Regions from separate parts of the Homo sapiens genome. Here region 1 is linked to region 2. The links are contacts of gene promoters, found by promoter capture Hi-C in human tissues and cell types (Jung and others, 2019). All regions are on one chromosome and are shown on one strand. The core of a region is centred on a gene start or on the middle of the fragment in contact, and the rest is flanking DNA. Distances in the headings are between cores, read along the strand shown. Region 1 overlaps LOC124904205 (a long non-coding RNA gene). Region 2 holds the start of GNG5 (G protein subunit gamma 5).

Region 1 (3,947 bases), core at 1,121-3,620, 500 kb before region 2:
GTGTAAAGAACTTAGGGCCAGAAGCTAAATAATCATCTTCCCCACAAATGACTTTGTGAAATTTAAGTTCTAAGAAGTACTACTTTAGGCCTGGTGACAAATGACAGCATGGAGCTGGCAAGAGAGCCATTCTCTCACCCAACCTGAAATAGACCTCCATACAGCCTTGCCAGCGATAGGAACTGATCTGCCCAGTGAGGGTATATTCTCATAAAGAACACTGGTGGCCGATACAAGGTCAAGGTAACTTAAGTAGGAGCCCAGAGCAGTAAAGCAGGAGTGGTATTATTCCTGAGCACCTGAAAGACACTGCTGAGGATTTCTTGCTGCAAATGATGGAGACTAGGGAGGCACTGCAGGGTCAAGGGAATCATTATTAAACTCAAGATGATTGTTAAACCTTATTTAGGCACCGATATTAACATGAACTCATTTGTATTCACAAACTAGCATGATCTGGGAACATTCCAATATTACTTTTTAAATGATACTAATAAGAAGAGAGCTAGAGAGAAAGAGAATACTTAATGCCTTTGATAAAACTGCATTGTGAGCCACAAAATGTTAAATCTTGATGCAAGATATTCCAGTACCTGCTATGTGTTGGTCTCTTACCAAAGCATGTGGTGACATTAACCTCTCAACTTATTCTTGCTGAAGAGAGTGCTTAATTGTGTTGTTTCTCTTTGCGTTTAGCTAACACTTATTAAATCATTAGTGTTTGAGTAACTAGTATTATGTGAAGTAAGTACTATTATCACTCCCATTTTATAAATGAAGAAACTGAGAATTACAAGGGTGTATTAATTTGTCAAAGGTAGCACAATTGGAAAGAGACAAAGCTGGATTTCAAACACTAACCAATACATGACGTGAATATCAGCATACTTTTACTGTCTCCTGCTATAGAGAACATGTACATTGCATGTTTCTCTGCAGCAGAATCTATTTTTTATTTATTATTAAAAACCTGTTTTCAACTCTCATTTCTAAGAGGAAATGAGTCATTTCCCACAGAAGATTTAAACATTGGATACCCTTTTCTAGGTTTCTGTGCTCAGAAAAGAGACCCTGAATTTAAGAATAAGAAGTGAACCTTGTAACATAAACTTGACCAGTGATGCCTAAAATTCTTGCTGCAAAATTATGATTGCAGGAACTCCTGCATGAGACTCTGGAAACTAGATTCCTATGAAGTTCTGTAGGTGGTTCTAATGTACAGCCAAGTTTGACCAGACCATACTGGACAAAAACAATATGGGGCCTACAAAAAATAACATTCAGGCTTCTAGACTTAACCCCTTAATCCCACCTTTTATTAAGAAGGAAATAAGAGGCTGTTATTTAAAACCTACATTATGTAATTTTACATTTATCATATAAAATGTATTTATTAAAGGGTTTAGAATTTTTCTCAGTGTTGTTTTTGTCATTCTCAACAAATCTTCAAAAAGCCCCAAATTTAAAATGATACTCATTCAAAATTACTTTTATATATAGATATTGGACTTTAAGCCCTTTTTAATTATTATACGGCATTTTATATAAGACAAAAAGTCATATTGCATTAGACTTTTGTTTTAATTTTTGGAGAATTTACATGACAGTAAGTCATTTCATCCAAGAAGATAATAAGCTTTTCTAGTTTATGTTTTTTCATTTCCCAATCATATTTTTATAATTTTGCTTATATATGTTCTGTAACTTTCTTACCAAAGTTGTACCAAATTTTTTATAGCACTTGTATTCTGAATGAAATGTTCTTTCCATTTCCTTTTGTAGGGTCTTCTACCAGAACAGAGAGATGATGCTTTCTGTAATTTATTTTGTATTCATTCAGTGCACCAAATTATCTTATTACTTGTTTTTTCATGAGTCCCTTGGATTTTCCAAGAAAACAGGCATATCAGCAATATCAAGAACTTTGTTTCTGGCTGGGCACAATGGCTTATGCCAGTAATCCCAACACTTCGGAAGGCCAGCGTGAAAGGAACACTTGACCCCAGGAATTTGAGACCAGCCTGGGCAACATAAGGAGATCTGTCTCTATAAAAAATAAGAAATTAGCTGTGCGTGGTGGCACCAGCCTACAGTCCCAGCTACTCAGGAGGCCAATGTGGGAAGATCCCTTAGTCCAGGAGTTCAAGGCTGCAGTGAGCCTTGATCACGCCACTGGCTCCACTCCGAGCAACAGAGTGAGACTGTTTATAAAATATATAAAAATGTATATTTGTTATAATTTATACCAGTTATTTTATTTATATTTGTTAGAATCACTAATGTAAGTGATTGTGGTGATGCCTGATTCCAGATTTTAAGTGAAAGATTTAATTTTTGTGATTTGGGATGATGTTCGCTATTGGGCTTTCCTTTATTATAAAAGAAATTTTTTCTGATTCTATTTTGCTTAAAGTCACTTGACTTTTATCTGATGCCTTTCCACAACTTATTGATAATGGTTGGGCTTTTTCCCTTTAATTTTTAATGTAATCAATATGTAGCTAGACTTCCTGATATTGAACCGCCTTTTCATTCCTCTAATAAAGCCTATTTTTTCACACCATGTTATTCACGTGATTCATTCCTCTATTGTATTCTCTGTTATTTAAACATTTGGCAGCTATATTCAGAAATGAAATCAGCCTGTACTTTTAATTGTTGTTTTACTCCTTCTTAGGCTTTGGTACTCAAGTTAGTCTGGCTTCATGAAATTAACTGGGGAACTTTCCATTTTTTTCTAAGACTTACAATAGTTTAAATAATATTGGAATTATCCGTTCTTTAATAGTTAGATTAAAAATTCAGCTGTGAATTCATCTGCCTGTGGCCTTCTTCAATAGCAGATCATTAATCACTTCTCCAATCTCTTCTGTAATAATTGGTCTATTCAAGTTTTTCACTTCTTCTGTGTCAGTTGTGATCATGTATATTTTCCTAGGAAAGTATTCACTTCTTCTAGGTTTTATTTTCCTAATGTGTTGCTAGGATCATCTTTAGTATTTACTTAGAATTCTTTTAATCTCTTTCCTACTTTCACACAATTGATCATGTCTAATTATGATCTTATTATCTTTTCCTTAGCAGGTTCACATGATGTTTATTTTATTTGTCTTTTTAAAGAAGCAATCTTTGAATTTATCATTCTTTTCTACCATTTTATCTATTTTAATAATTTCACTGTTGATACCTCTTCAGAGTTTCTTTTGTTTTCTTTTTGCTATTGTTGTTGTTCTTACATGGACTCATTACTTACTTAATGCCTTTGTACTCACCTTTCTGCTTCCATAATTAAAGGCAACACATTTTCCTCTGAGTTCAGTTTTTGCTGTGTCCCATTATTTTTAGAGTGTTTGATTTGTCAATGTTTCTGGACATTTCTATATTATTTAATTTCCTCTGTCATACAAGGTTTGTCTTATTATGTGCTTCTTTATTTCCAATTTATTTTACTGAACTGTGGTGAGAGGATGTAACCTGTAAGCTTTCTACTTCTTTGAATTTGGTTTTCCTTTCAGCTAAGCACATGATTTGTTTTGTAAAAGTTTTAGGGAACTATGAAATATATGTGTATATATGTGTGTGTGTGTGTGTGTGTGTGGGTGGGGGTGTGTATATATATGTGTGTGCGTGTGTATGTGTGTATTCAAAGAATAAAATGTACTATATTAATATGTGCTCATGCCTGTAATCCCAACACTTTGAGAGGACAAGGCAGGAGCATCCCTTGAGGCCAGGAGTTCAAAACTAACCTAAGCAACAAAGTGAGACCCTGTTTCGACAAAAAAATTGGCACACCTGTAGTCCCAGCTGCTAGGGAGGCTGAGGTGGAAGGATCACTTGAGCCCAGAAGTTCGAGATTACAGTGAACGATGATTGCACCACTGCATTCAATCCAGGTGAAAGAGTGAGACCCTATCTCAAAAAGAAAGTGCCATAGTCTGAAAGTT
Region 2 (4,273 bases), core at 1,471-3,970:
CTAAGGGAAGGTGTCTGAGGTGACATTGAAGCTGAGATCTCAATGACAAGAGATCCAGCCAAATAACCATCAGTGAGAAACAGCATTCCAAACAGTGAGGAAAGCTGAGACAAAGACTCTAAAACTGGAACAAGCTGCTAGCCCCTAAGGCACTGTAACAATCACCATCCAGGAGGTTGAAACCCTGTAATCCTGGCCTATTAGTGCCCCTTCTCACTCTCAAAAATGTCCTGACCTACCTATGACAGTTTGTCAAGCACTTATGGTAAGTTCTATCAATTGTACTCACACATAAAGGTTAAAAGTAAGATTGTGCTAGTTTAAAAATCTCACAAAAAAATCACCTAGCCCAGTCATTGATAAAACAGATACACAACGTTAAACCACATTTAGCAACATGTCTAAAGAAAAGCTCATTAAAAAGTACAAAAGGGGATGCTCCCCTTCTTGCTACAGCCTTAACATCAGGCAATAACTCCAAAACCAAATCATGTCTGGTGCCTTTAATGATCCCGACCAGAACCAGAAGTCTACTGAAGATTTAGGTAGGATCAGTTTTGGGGAATTAGGGGAGCAGCAGCTAGGGTTTTCAAAGTAAAGCTCTTGGAGTATTTTAGCCTGAGAACCTCATGTCATTTTCTTTGGAGACTAAAGATGTACAATTTATTGCTTTCACTATCCCACCCCCATTTTTTTTTCTTGGTCCATCCTATCTATGATAAAGGCACACCTGAATGACATTTAATGGTTACGAAATAAATGATTTCGAGTTTCAGAGCCAAATCCAGCCAAGACTGACTAGAAACCACTGTGATGAGGTAAGAATTGGGAGAGTAGAGAAATGGATTCCAAACTGCAGTGAGGTCTACAGCATTTCAAGGACTGGACGTGAGGGGGATCCCACACCAAGACGAATGAGAATTCCCTTCCCTTCTGAGTTGACCACAACTGAGTAAGCTAGGTCCCTGACATTTCTAGTTAACAAAACTAAATGGGAGACTCTCTCTCAGGAGGATCCTGCACCAAGACGAATGAGAATTTCCCTTCCCTTCTGAGGTGACCACAACTGAGTAAGCTAGGTCTCTGACACTTCTAGTTAAGAAAGCTTAGAGACCCTCTCAGTTCACAAAACATTTCGGCAAGTAATAAAGACTAGCCTGATGAGTATAAAATCAAATCATCTTAGGAACTGGCTGCTTTTAACAGGGCACATGATTTACATTCTTGTTTCTTTTTTTAACTGCAGAAGTGTTTCACATGTAGCCTGACCTATTGTACCAGAAAGAAGCCAATCCATTTAGGACTGTAAAAATCAGGAAATACTTAGAACAGCACTTGAATGTCAAGTTATTCTATCAACACAGACAAAAGGCTTTTTCTCCCAAAGTACCCCAAGACAAGGCCAATACTAACCAGACGCCAAAATAAGACCAATAATTACCCACAATAATCATTTTCTCCGGCATGCGGACCAGTCGATATCCCCAAGGTCAAATATGAGCAAACTGTGCCATAGGTATGAAATGCACGCTTTGTTCGAGGTTGTACGGGGCACTGACCGGAACTTTACACTCCAGGATCGTTTCGAAAAATGCTTATTCAATCCACAGTTTAAGTTATGCAATAATTCGCTTAAAAGTATGTGTTCAACGGACAAGAGAAGTTGAAGGTAAGAATTTAATACTAAAGGAAGTAGGTTTGGGAAAGATCAAATGGGAGAAAAGTCTGCTCTGAATCAAAAGTCGGAAAATACCCTGTCCGATGAGAAACAGGAGGCTGGCAAAGTGGGAAAGGAAGGGTGCGGACAGCGCGCGGAGGCGCAGCTGTTGGTGAGACCAGCCGAGAAGGCTGCCAAGGGAGGTAGAGACGGAGGAGGACCGGAATGTCGGCCACGGTTCAACCCAGGGGCCAGCCCGCCTCGGAAAGTCCTGGGGCGGAAGGGCGAACTAATCGTCCCCCTAAAACACAGCGTAGACCCACGCGGCGCCTGCTCTAAAGCTGGCCGCTCCCCGATCGCCGCCGCTGAGCGCGCGTCCTCTCCAGGGGAAGCGAGGGCCGGCGCGTGTCCCGCCCGCCCCCGCCAGCTGGGCCGCCGGATCCCACCCGCCGCCGCCGCCTTCCTCCCGCCTCGGCCGCCCGCCCCCGCTCACTTTTACGCGGTTGAGTCCGGCCTCCAGCCGGAGCTGTTGAACCACTTTCTTCATAGCGGCGACGCTGGAGGAGCCAGACATGGTGCACGCGACGGCCGGGCCGATTCGTGGGTCGGTGGGTCGTGGGCCGTGGGTCGGCGGGGCCAGACAACTCAGCGGCGCGCGGCGGGGGCGGGGCTCCGAACTTTGTCTCTAAGTTTCCGGTTCTGTGCTCAGCGGCTCCACCCTCGGTGCGCATGCGCGCCTTGCCAGCCCTCTGTTCCAGCTCCACACCCGGCCCCGAGCGCGAGCCTGGAGGAGGGGGAGGAGAAGGGGCGGAGCAGTCGGTGGGCGCGGCGGCTGCTGGAGGCTAGCGCGACCCGACTCTTAAGTTTTCTTTTCCTCTCCAGAGGGGCCGATTAGGGAGAGGTAAGGAGAGAGCTTACCGTTAGCCGCGAAGAACTAAGAGGGGGTCTGAAGAGGACCAGGGAGGGAAGGCAGAGCTTGTGGGAGTTTCTAAAAGGCCCGGCGGCGGGTGACCAGGAGGTCTCAGTTTTCCTCCCAGTTTGTGGGAAGGGTTGAGGGAAGTGAGGGGAGATACTGGGTGAGGCGTAGGAGCTACTGTGCACCCGGCGTGAGTCACCCGCACACCCCCGCCCCGTACAGGCGTGTCTCTCTGTGACCCGAGTTTGGCCAACAGGCATTTTCAGTTCCACCCCCAACCCCCAGCCCCGCTGACCCGAGGCGGAGAGCAGGCGCGGAGGTCGCTGTCGCGTACCCAGCGGAGCCGGGCGGGCGGGGAGCAGGGGCGCTGATTCGCTGGAGAAGGGATCTTCTCGAGGTTTGACTTTACTGGCTTCTTAGCTCTTGAATCGGTTTTTCTGAAGGAGATTGTGAAGAAGCCAAGGTGCTGGCTGAAGATTACACCTGTCTGCTCGGTTACCCATTTACTCTGGAGAATTAATGCTTATTGTACTTTTTAAAATAAAACTTATTTTTGTGTTTCCGGAAAGTTTGCTCTTTAGTATTTCCGTTGTAATTTATTACCTCCTGCTTGAAATTGAGTACCAAAGGAGTTTTTAGGAGAGAGGGTAGGGTCTAACCAAACAAAATAGGCTCAGCCAGTAGGTCTTTCTTTCATCCACGGAAATATGTGTGTTATGTCACAGCACTAAGGGCAGATGTTTCCTATTTCTTTTCGGGTAGTCAATCTCCGAATGCGCTGATGTTTTCCATTAATGTTAATAATTTTATCATTAATGGATTTCAAATTTTTTATTAGGGAAGCATGTGTAATTGCACTGGTCAACAAAATCTAATTTATTTACTCAACAGTTTATATCAGTTCGCAAAAATGTACATCGTAAGTTTAGCATTTTACTTAATTCATACGGATGTAATGATTGGGGTTAAAACCAGGGTTTGAATTCTGGCTCTGCTACTTACGGTATTCTTGGGCAAGCCACTTAAGTTACTGAGGCTTTATTTCCTTATTTCAAAGTAAATTATACAGCTTCGTAGAGTTGTTTTTCGGAATGAAATGACATTATATGTAAAAAGAATGTGAAAGCTATCTCAATAAATATTGTCTTTTCCCAAAAGGTATTGTAATTATTTCACCTTTGGTGCTTTGTTGACTGTATAATGCTAAAACGTCATTCATACTTTACAGATTTGTAAGATTAAACACAAGTATCTATTCAAAGAATGATCTGTTTTACAGTAGTTGTAAAATATATCACTGAACTCTTAGAACCGTGGTATGTTAATGCTGGAAGAGATTTTAGGGAATATATGGTCCAATAATTACTTCTGTGAGGGAGACTGTTGAGGAATAAGCAGTGTTTTAGGCCGAAACAGTTTCAGAAAAAAAAAAAATTGTTGCTTTTTTATTAACTGCTGCATTGGGAAACCACAGACTGGAGTGCTGTCTCAAACACCAGGTGTTATTTTTTTGTAGCGTGTGTTTAAAGATTCTATTTAGGATACAAAAGAAAAATAAAACATTGAGGCCTGGTATGGTGGCTCACGCCTGTAATCCCAGCACTTTAGCAGGCTGAGGCGAGCAGATCACGAGGTCAAGAGATCGAGACCATCCTGGCCAACGTGGGGAAACCGTCTCTACTAAAAAATACAAAAATTAG

Evidence for each region. Contacts are between HindIII fragments. The study calls those that stand out against the background at their distance.
Region 1: a contact is called between a fragment that was not itself captured here and the fragment with the promoter of GNG5 in region 2, in 1 of the 25 tissues and cell types used here (hippocampus).

What each region holds. Positions count from the first base shown.
Region 1 is chr1:84,001,494-84,005,440 of GRCh38, forward strand. LOC124904205 (a long non-coding RNA gene) reads left to right here. Exons shown (of 2, transcript XR_007066195.1): 2 at 1,783-2,560. Among named protein-coding and RNA genes, the nearest start is that of TTLL7, 4.3 kb to the left of the region's middle. The HindIII fragment of the contact is 3,634 bases long and covers 554-3,947 here.
Region 2 is chr1:84,503,861-84,508,133 of GRCh38, forward strand. GNG5 (G protein subunit gamma 5) reads right to left here and starts at 2,721. Exons shown (of 4, transcript NM_005274.3): 1 at 2,576-2,721; 2 at 2,151-2,441. The coding sequence starts at 2,231. It overlaps SPATA1 (spermatogenesis associated 1), which reads left to right and starts at 2,526. Exons shown (of 14, transcript NM_001397487.1): 1 at 2,526-2,558. RefSeq lists an enhancer at 1-327 and silencers at 1,987-2,116, 2,367-2,446. The HindIII fragment of the contact is 15,510 bases long and covers 1-4,273 here.